Regions from separate parts of the Homo sapiens genome. Here region 1 is linked to region 2. The links are contacts of gene promoters, found by promoter capture Hi-C in blood cells and fetal thymus (Javierre and others, 2016). All regions are on one chromosome and are shown on one strand. The core of a region is centred on a gene start or on the middle of the fragment in contact, and the rest is flanking DNA. Distances in the headings are between cores, read along the strand shown. Region 1 overlaps LOC107983981 (a long non-coding RNA gene). Region 2 holds the start of CYP19A1 (cytochrome P450 family 19 subfamily A member 1).

Region 1 (4,077 bases), core at 824-3,323, 1.7 Mb after region 2:
ATTAGGTCTAGTTGGTCAAGTGTCTAATTCAAGTCCAGAATTTCTTTGTTGGTTTTCTGCCTTGATGGTCTGTCTAACACTGGCAGTGGGATGTTGAAGTCCCCCACATTATTGTGTGGTTTTCCGAGTCTTTTAGTAAGTCTAGAATCTGGGTGCTCCAATGTTGGGTGTGTATATATTTAGGATAGTTTTCTCCCTCACTCGAGAGCAGGCATTCCAGTCTCTGGTCTGATATTAAAATGCCTGACGTTCATGCTGCCAGGTCACCAAAGAATGGCTGACTTTGTATGTGCCTGGGCTAAAAATGGTGTCCTGTTCTCCGTCCTGGGTCTGGGAAAATGTCTGCAGCTTTTTCTTGTGTCTTTCCCTTACATTGTCTCCAAGCCTTTCCCCAAATTAGCTCCCACACTTATGGGAAACAAAGTGCTCTCCCTCAGCCTGGGTTGCTCTGATCCCCAGTGGAAATGTGAGTCATAGAGGGAGGCTACTTGCCTCTCTGAGGTACTCAGGCTTCACTCACTTTTATCAGCTAAATGTCACAGGAGCTGTTTGCTGGCGTTCTCCTCCCCAGTATCTGTGGTGCCCATCATGATTCTGGTGGATTCCCATTTTCCTTCTTGAAGTAAAGCTCCAGAGTTTATCTTTATGCACTATCTTGCTGTTTCCAAGTGGCTGAGGCATTCTAATACCTTTTATCTGCATCTGGGAGGGAGAAAAAAACCCTGTCATCATTTTAAATTTTCTTGAATCCAACTGCCTTTTCAACCAACATTTAGTTTTTAATAGTTTCACCTTGTATGTTCTCCTTCATAGGTTTAAGTTCCATTATTTCAGAGGATGACTGTCTTGTTATTTTTCCTTTTCATAGATGCTGGCTTTCTATGTTATATGAAACTTGATTTAAGTTTATGTTTATTCCACCTCTATTTTAAAAAGGATCTCAGTCCTTTGTAGGAGAAAATAAACTTGCTCAATTTCTTCTGTTATCTGACTCTCTGTCCAGATATTCATCCTTTACTTTATCCATCAACAGACATTTATTGAACACAGGTGCTAGGAATTGAGCTAAATGTCACAGGAGACACAAGGTTGAATATACATGGTTTCTGACCTACTTCAGCTGGCATTTTAGCTAAGGAAAATGGATCTGTCTGGCTGAGGCTTAGTGTGGGAAGAGGGCAGGGCTGCTGTGTGTGGTCACACAGAGAGCCTACATAACTTGAGGGGGTAGCTTCGACATAGGTAGGATATATGGTAGCTTCTTATGGAGTAGTGCCCGGTACTAAGGATCTGTACTAGTACACCATTTTAGCACTTTCCTGTTGGGGTTTTTGGCTTAGCTCCAGGAAATCATTTGTAAGTAGAGTTAGAGCGGGAGAAATAGTTTCTGGTCTGAACAACAGAATCTTACATGTAAAGATGGTTGCCATTTATTAAAGTAACTCTGAGCTAGTGAGATGTGCTGGCTATATACCCAGCTTTGAAATGTGACTCAGGATGTTGAATCTTAGCTGTGACTTGGCTCCACACATGAACCATTTGGATAGTGCACCTGGAAGTACAAAATCTTGTTCTGGACTGAAATCAGCTCACTCATTGAAATAAAAAAAATCATAGCCAGAAATCAATAACAAAAATGAAACTATAAAATTCACAAACCTTTGGAAAATGAAGACATATACTTCTAAACAATAACCCATGGCTCAATGAAGAAATCATGATGGAAATTTTAAAATACTTTCAACTGAATGATTTTGGAAATGTTACATATCAAAACTTGTGAAATATAGTAAAAAGCTTTGCTTATAGGGAAATTTATAGCTTTAAGTACATAAGTTAGGAAAAATGGGAGGTTGAAATTAATGAGCTAGGCATCCGTCTTAAGAAGTTGGGAAATAACAGCAAATCAAACCAAAGAAAGCAGAAGAAATGTCATAATGAATGTTAGAGTAGAAAATAATGAAGTTGAAAACAAAAAATAAATGTACAATACATCAATATAGGCAAAAGTTGGTTTTAGAAGAAGCTATTAAAACTGAGAAGTTTCTGGTGAGGCCAAGAGAGGGAGACACACAAACTCACACACACATGCACACACACACACACACAGAAAGAGAGAGAAAGAGAGAGAAACAGAGAGGAATCAATGTCAAGAATAAAAAAGTGATTATCTCAGGTCCTAGATATTGAAATGATAAGAAACTATTATGAATAACTTTATAGCAAAACTTTACAAAATTTAGGGGAAATGAACACATTCTTAAAGAAGTACAATTTTATTAAAAGACATCTGAAGAAAGAGAAAATCTGAATAGTCTTTTAACTGTTAAGAAAATTGAATCTGAAATTAAAGCTTTTCCTACAAACAAAACTCTAGATCAGATCAGATAAGAAATTATATCAGACATTTAGGACCAAAATAACTATCATGTTACACAAAAGAATATTCCAGACACATTTTATATCAAGTATAAAGCCTATCTCACTTATAGGCATAGAGGTATTAAAAAAACCTAATAAAAATGTTACAAATCAAATGTGATTGCTTTAGCCTTTGAAATCAGTGAAATTAACTTAGAGTAAACGAGAAAAAATCGACCATTTCAATAAGTTCAGAAATTGCATTGAATAAAATTTAACATTGGTTCATAATAAGAATTTTTTAGTAAACTGGGAATACAGGAAGATTTTCCTAATGGTAAAAGATATCTATAAAAAGTCTACTATAATTTTATACTTAATGGTTAAATGCTCTTCTTTGGAGATTAGAAATAACAGAAAGATCCTCAGTATCACCACTTCTCTTCAACATTATACTGGAAATGCTATCCAGTGCAAAGAGGCAGAAAAACCAAAAGAAAAAAGGTATATAGATTGGAAGGGAGAAATAAAAGGATTACAAAAAATGATATGATTTTATGAAAAAATTCAAAAGAATGTACAGATAACATTAGTAATACATGACTTTAGTTAATGCATGACTTATAGTATTACTGGTCAATATTGAAATATAAACTGTGAACTTATATACCTGTAATAAACAGCTATGAAATGAATAAAAATACGATTTACAATAGCGTAAAAATATAAATTATCTAGAAACAAATCTAAAACATGATGTTGATATGGTTTGGCTGTATCCACCCCCAAACCTCAATTTGAATTTTATCACCCAGAATTCTTATGTATTGTGGGAGGGACCCAGGAGGAGGTAATTGAATCATGGGAACCAGTCTTTCCCATGCTATTCTCATGATAGTGAATAAGTCTCAAGAGACCTGATGGGCTTATCAGGGGTTTCCGCTTTTGCTTCTTCCTCATTTTCTCTTGCTGCTGCCATGTAAGAAGTAACTTTCACCTCCCGCCATGACTCTGAGGGCTCCCCAGCCACGTGAACTGTAAGTCCAATTAAACCTCTTTTCCTTCCCAGTCTCAGATATGTCTTTATCAGCAGCATGAAAACGGGTTAATGCAGATGTGTAAGACATCTATGCAGAAAACCACAAAGCATACCATAAAACTAAGAATAATATATAAATAACTGGAAGAAAAAATGTATATAGATTTGAAGATTTAATATAAGAAAGATGTTAATGCCGTTCAATCTTACCTTTTCAGTTCAATCCCAATAAACATCCTCATCCCAATAAAAAGCTCATTTTTTTTTTTTGGTGGAAACAACCTGATTCTAAAATTTAAATGAAAATTCAGAGGGTCAAGAATAATTAAGGCATTCTTGAAAAAGGGCAAGTCAGAAGATGATAAGATATAAGCAAATAAAAGTGTGGGCTATAATAGAAAGTTCAGAAATTGACCACAGATAGATGAACATTAAATTTATGACAAAGGTGGCACACCAAAATGGTTGGGAAAGCTCAGGCTTATCAATAAATTATGCTAGGAAAAATGAGTAAAAACATGGAAAACAAGAAACTTGACCCCTTCATCACTCCATAAAAAAAATCAATTCCAGGTAGATGTAAATGTGAGAGGCAAGACAGTAACAGCCTAGAAGATAACTTAGGAGAATATCTTTGTGGTCCAACGTGGAAAAAACACTAACTATAAAAAAAGGGC
Region 2 (4,129 bases), core at 1,462-3,961:
CCTCCTCCTTGCTCCTGACGCTCCATGTGGCACCGCATTGGCTTCTTACGGTTCCTCAAATAAGCCATGCCATCTCCTGCCATAGGGCCTTGAACGTGTTGTTCCTCCTCTCTGCAATTCTCCTCACCCCTATCTTCGCCTAGTTTACAACTCAGCTTCAGGTGCCAACACAAGCATCCTTTTCTCAGGGAAGCCTTCCCTGAACCACACATCCAACTCTAGGACAGGCTCTTCAGTGATATGATCTCAAGGAACTGCATTCCTTTCTTCCAGAGCATTTGTCTCGTGGCCGCATTTAGAATTGCACCCTCATGTCTAATATTGTTTGGTAAATCTGTCTCCCCACTCCAGGCTTCAGGAATGATGCCTGGCTTTGCTCTCCATGCTATTCCTGGCTCCTGGCACAGTTCCTGGCAGATAGTAGGCACCCAATTACCATTTGCTGAGTAAATGAATACATGAAAGAATAAAAGAAAGAAAAAAGGGAGAATTGCTGACTTTGGTTGGATGGTGTGAAGTTTCTTGGGGTTTAACAGTAGGAATGGGGAGTTAAAACCATAAGAGGCTGAGTGGAAGATGCATGTGGTGACAACTTTTAGGGTGGCTCTCTCCCTAATCACCAGTGTGGTGGAAGGGTGGTGGGGCAGTAAAACCATCAAAAGTCACAGTGTAGCTGTCAATCTCATCACTGAAGACAAGAATACCCAAGTGCCAGGCCAGGAAAATTATTTACTTCACAATCAGGAAGAAATGCTGTGGAACTAAAGTTGGGGTATATTCTTGAATTTGATTTTATTCTCCAGAGCCCTAAAGTTAACCAGCTGGAATCATTTTTAAGGACCATTCTATTTAACTTTTGGAAATGAAGCATCTGCCTTTTAATGGAAAAACTACTTCTCATTGTAAAGATAGCACACAATGTTCTTGGCTGCTTTGGTCTCCAAAAAAAGGGAATTGAGATATCTCCCTGTGTCCGCATTATATCCTGAGCCTCCTGTGTCAACAAAACAGGCCAGATTGATAGCTTTTTTTTTTTTTTAATAATAAGTAAAAAGTAGCAGCCCATTCTGTGAAGTATCAGGCAGGGCAGGCTATGCAGGCATATCTGCCTCTCAAGAAATCTCAAGAGGCTTAGGGATTCACACTGAAAGGCTCCATATAACCAACCTCAAAGCCATGGTATTCAGACGAGAACCCAAGTTTATCGTGCATTCAAAAGTTCTGTTCCTCAAAAAGCATCTACAAAGTGTGATTAGCTAATGAATCCATTAATCAAATATTCCTACTTGGCACAAGTCCCTGCTGTGAGAGGACAGTTAAGATAGGTCCCTGCCTTAAGAATATTGTAACCCAACTGAAGAAATAGGATGTGGAAGAACTAAGATGTCGATTAACAGCACAAGGCACAGAAGAACTAAAGTGTCAACTAACAGCACAAGGCACACACAGTGTAAGTCTCAGCCAGTTCATATGGCCCATATCCAACAATACCAACCCGTGTTGAACATTTATTATACAAGTGCTTTACAAGTATTTTCTTATTAAAGCTTCACAACCCTATGAAATAGATACAATTACAGTCTCTTTAAAGAACTTGAGTAGCATATCTAAAGTCATGCAGTTAAAAAACAGTTTCAAGGTCAGGTCTGATTCCAAAGCCCAGGTGCATAACCACAGAGCCCCTGCAGCTTGTAGAGCTCACAGTGCTTGGGACTGGCCTAGGAAGTCAAGGCTAGATGAGGAAGGGTACTCGGAGTTAGGCCTTAAAGTGGGCAACACTGAAATAGGCCAGTGATGGAGATAGGTCACTGTGTGGCACTGCGGTGGAAAGAGGGTTGGAGAGAGAAGATAGAGGAGAAGAGGAAAGAGGGCAGAGCATGGCAGCTGCTTGGGCACAGCCACTTTAGGGTGAGAGATGAGTGAAGATGTCTACCTTGTAGGCCATATCAACATGTCCCCCTTCTTCTGTGAAAAATGCCATCATCCCACACAGGAAGAGTTGGAGAGGGATCTGACAGTGGAGTCTGGTAGGAAAGGAGTCTGGCTTTTCATTTGCGCTTCCTTCTGCCCCTCTTGCCCCAGAGCAATATCCCAGGCTTTCCACCAACCCAGCCCACGGGGTGGCCATGCTACAAGCCTTTTGAGTCCTGCATCCCAAGAGGGGCAGCTTCTTGGCCTGAAGTTGTCTAATAGAGCCTGCCTGGCTCCAAGCAGGCCTCATCTCTGCTCTGTCTACTGGATCTGGGCTCTGAACTGGGGTGGGAGGTGGGGAAATGGGGAGGCTGGTTCAGGCTACCACTTCCTCTCCTCACCATTGGATAGCCAGCCTTTCAAGGAAAGTAGGGGGCCAGTTCTGTGGCATAGAACAGTATAGTTCTTAGGCCCTCCTATTTCAGAAAAACACTCAAGCAGTGTTTTCCCTCTGCTCTCACACCACGACAACAGTCATCAACACAGAAGACTTCTGCGACCAAATGTAGGGGATTTTCCCCCACACACCAAGCAGCGGGCACCAGCTGGGTGTCCTCCAACTCAGTTCCAACACTATCTACCTGGAAAGAGTGTCTGATCCCACAGGTTGAGGGCTCAGTCAGATTAAGAGATACATACGCGACGTCTGGAAGATCCCGAGCACAGGACCTTCCGTCCTGATAGGATAAGTTCTTCTTCACCTTCCTGTTTGCCTCCACGTGTTCAGCCCTCCAGAAACTCCCTGAACCCTGTCCTTTGGGCCTTTTATGGAGATTTCATTTGTTGTCCATGACTGAAGCATGTGATTGAACAAAATGTGATTGGACAAAAAGGGTATGATCTAATCTCAGCAAGGTCTGTCTGTCCAGATTCTTCTTCCTCTCTTTGTGCAGCATTCCTTCCTCCAGGGTATGGGGCATGACCTCCTCTGGAATGAGGGTCTTATGACCCACAATCAGATTATAGAGTCCCGCCTTGGGTGGATGAAAGGAGGGCAAAGAAGGCCAGAGAAATATTCTGTTTCCTGAGGCCTAAAGCACCTCTACATTATAGCAAAAGACCTCAGCAAGTGTCATGGGAGTTATGGACAAGAACCATGGACAAAAATCTATATACATGTAATCATAAGATCACACCCCCCACCACACACCACATTGTTCTACATAGAAGTGCCTTCACTATACAGCTTTTCATTTATTCATTCGTTCATTCACTCATTTATTCAACGGGTAATAGTGAATTCCAAATCAGGAACTGTGCTATGTGTTGGGGGTGACATGGCCCCTAGCCTCAGGAGGCTTCTATTCCATGGTTAATGGTGGGTATTGCTGAGAGATGATCAGTCAACAGTAACTGCAATGAATGTTAGGATAAAGAGAAGCCCAGAAGGCTCCACGGTGTTCCAGCTGCTCACAGGGTAATCTGCCTGTCTTTTTTACTTCCGTATCTCCAATGCCCATTATCATACCAGGCACAGGAAGTGCTCAGTTAAGTGTTTACTGAATTAAATGAAGATCTGAATGATGCTGAGTGTCAACCCTCCCTCTCAGTGGCTCCTCCCCATTGGCCCTAAACCTGATACCTGGATGAAAAGAGATAAGGATACATGACAGTTCTTCAAGTAGGTCACAGAACGTTTGAGTTGGGAGGAAATGGACAAAGCTTTTTACATCACTGCCATCCCCTCCCAGTCATCATATCCCCACAGTGGGGGTACTTTATGAAACACTTGGACCTTCATGCTTTCCTAATTTCTTCTTATCCTGTATGCTCTTCTAAGAATACTGAAGTTGGTCAATGTTCCTATTAAAACTCAGGAATCTAAACTTTGACTCAGAATTTCTGATTGAGATGTCACTTCAGTTTCCTTGTGCATTCTCAGAGGCTCTACCCTGGCTCACCCTGGAGAGTAGGGGGCAAGAAGTCTGATACTACTCAGCTTTCTCTCCTGTGCCAAAAAATCCTACCTGCAAGAATTGGTATGTGTATTAGTCCATTCTTGCCTTGCTATAAAGAAAAGCCCGAGACTGGGTAACTTACAAGAAAAGAAGTTTAATTGGCTCATGGTTCCACAGGCTGAACAGGAAGCATGGCAGCACCTGCATCTGGGGAGGCCTCAGGGAGCTTTTACTCATGGAGGAAGGCAAAGCAGGAGCAG

What was found. The method cuts DNA at HindIII sites, captures the fragments that hold promoters and counts their contacts. A CHiCAGO score of 5 or more calls a contact.
Region 1: a contact is called between a fragment that was not itself captured here and the fragment with the promoter of CYP19A1 in region 2, in 1 of 17 cell types (total CD4 T cells). The highest score is 5.6, in total CD4 T cells.

The regions. Positions count from the first base shown.
Region 1 is chr15:53,019,694-53,023,770 of GRCh38, forward strand. All of the region lies in intron 4 of LOC107983981 (a long non-coding RNA gene), which reads left to right. Among named protein-coding and RNA genes, the nearest start is that of LINC02490, 95 kb to the right of the region's middle. The HindIII fragment of the contact is 556 bases long and covers 1,796-2,351 here.
Region 2 is chr15:51,335,885-51,340,013 of GRCh38, forward strand. CYP19A1 (cytochrome P450 family 19 subfamily A member 1) reads right to left here and starts at 2,712. Exons shown (of 10, transcript NM_000103.4): 1 at 2,611-2,712. RefSeq lists promoters at 2,637-3,214, 2,637-2,955, an enhancer at 2,876-2,955 and cis regulatory regions at 2,907-2,924, 2,989-3,018. The HindIII fragment of the contact is 2,086 bases long and covers 1,546-3,631 here.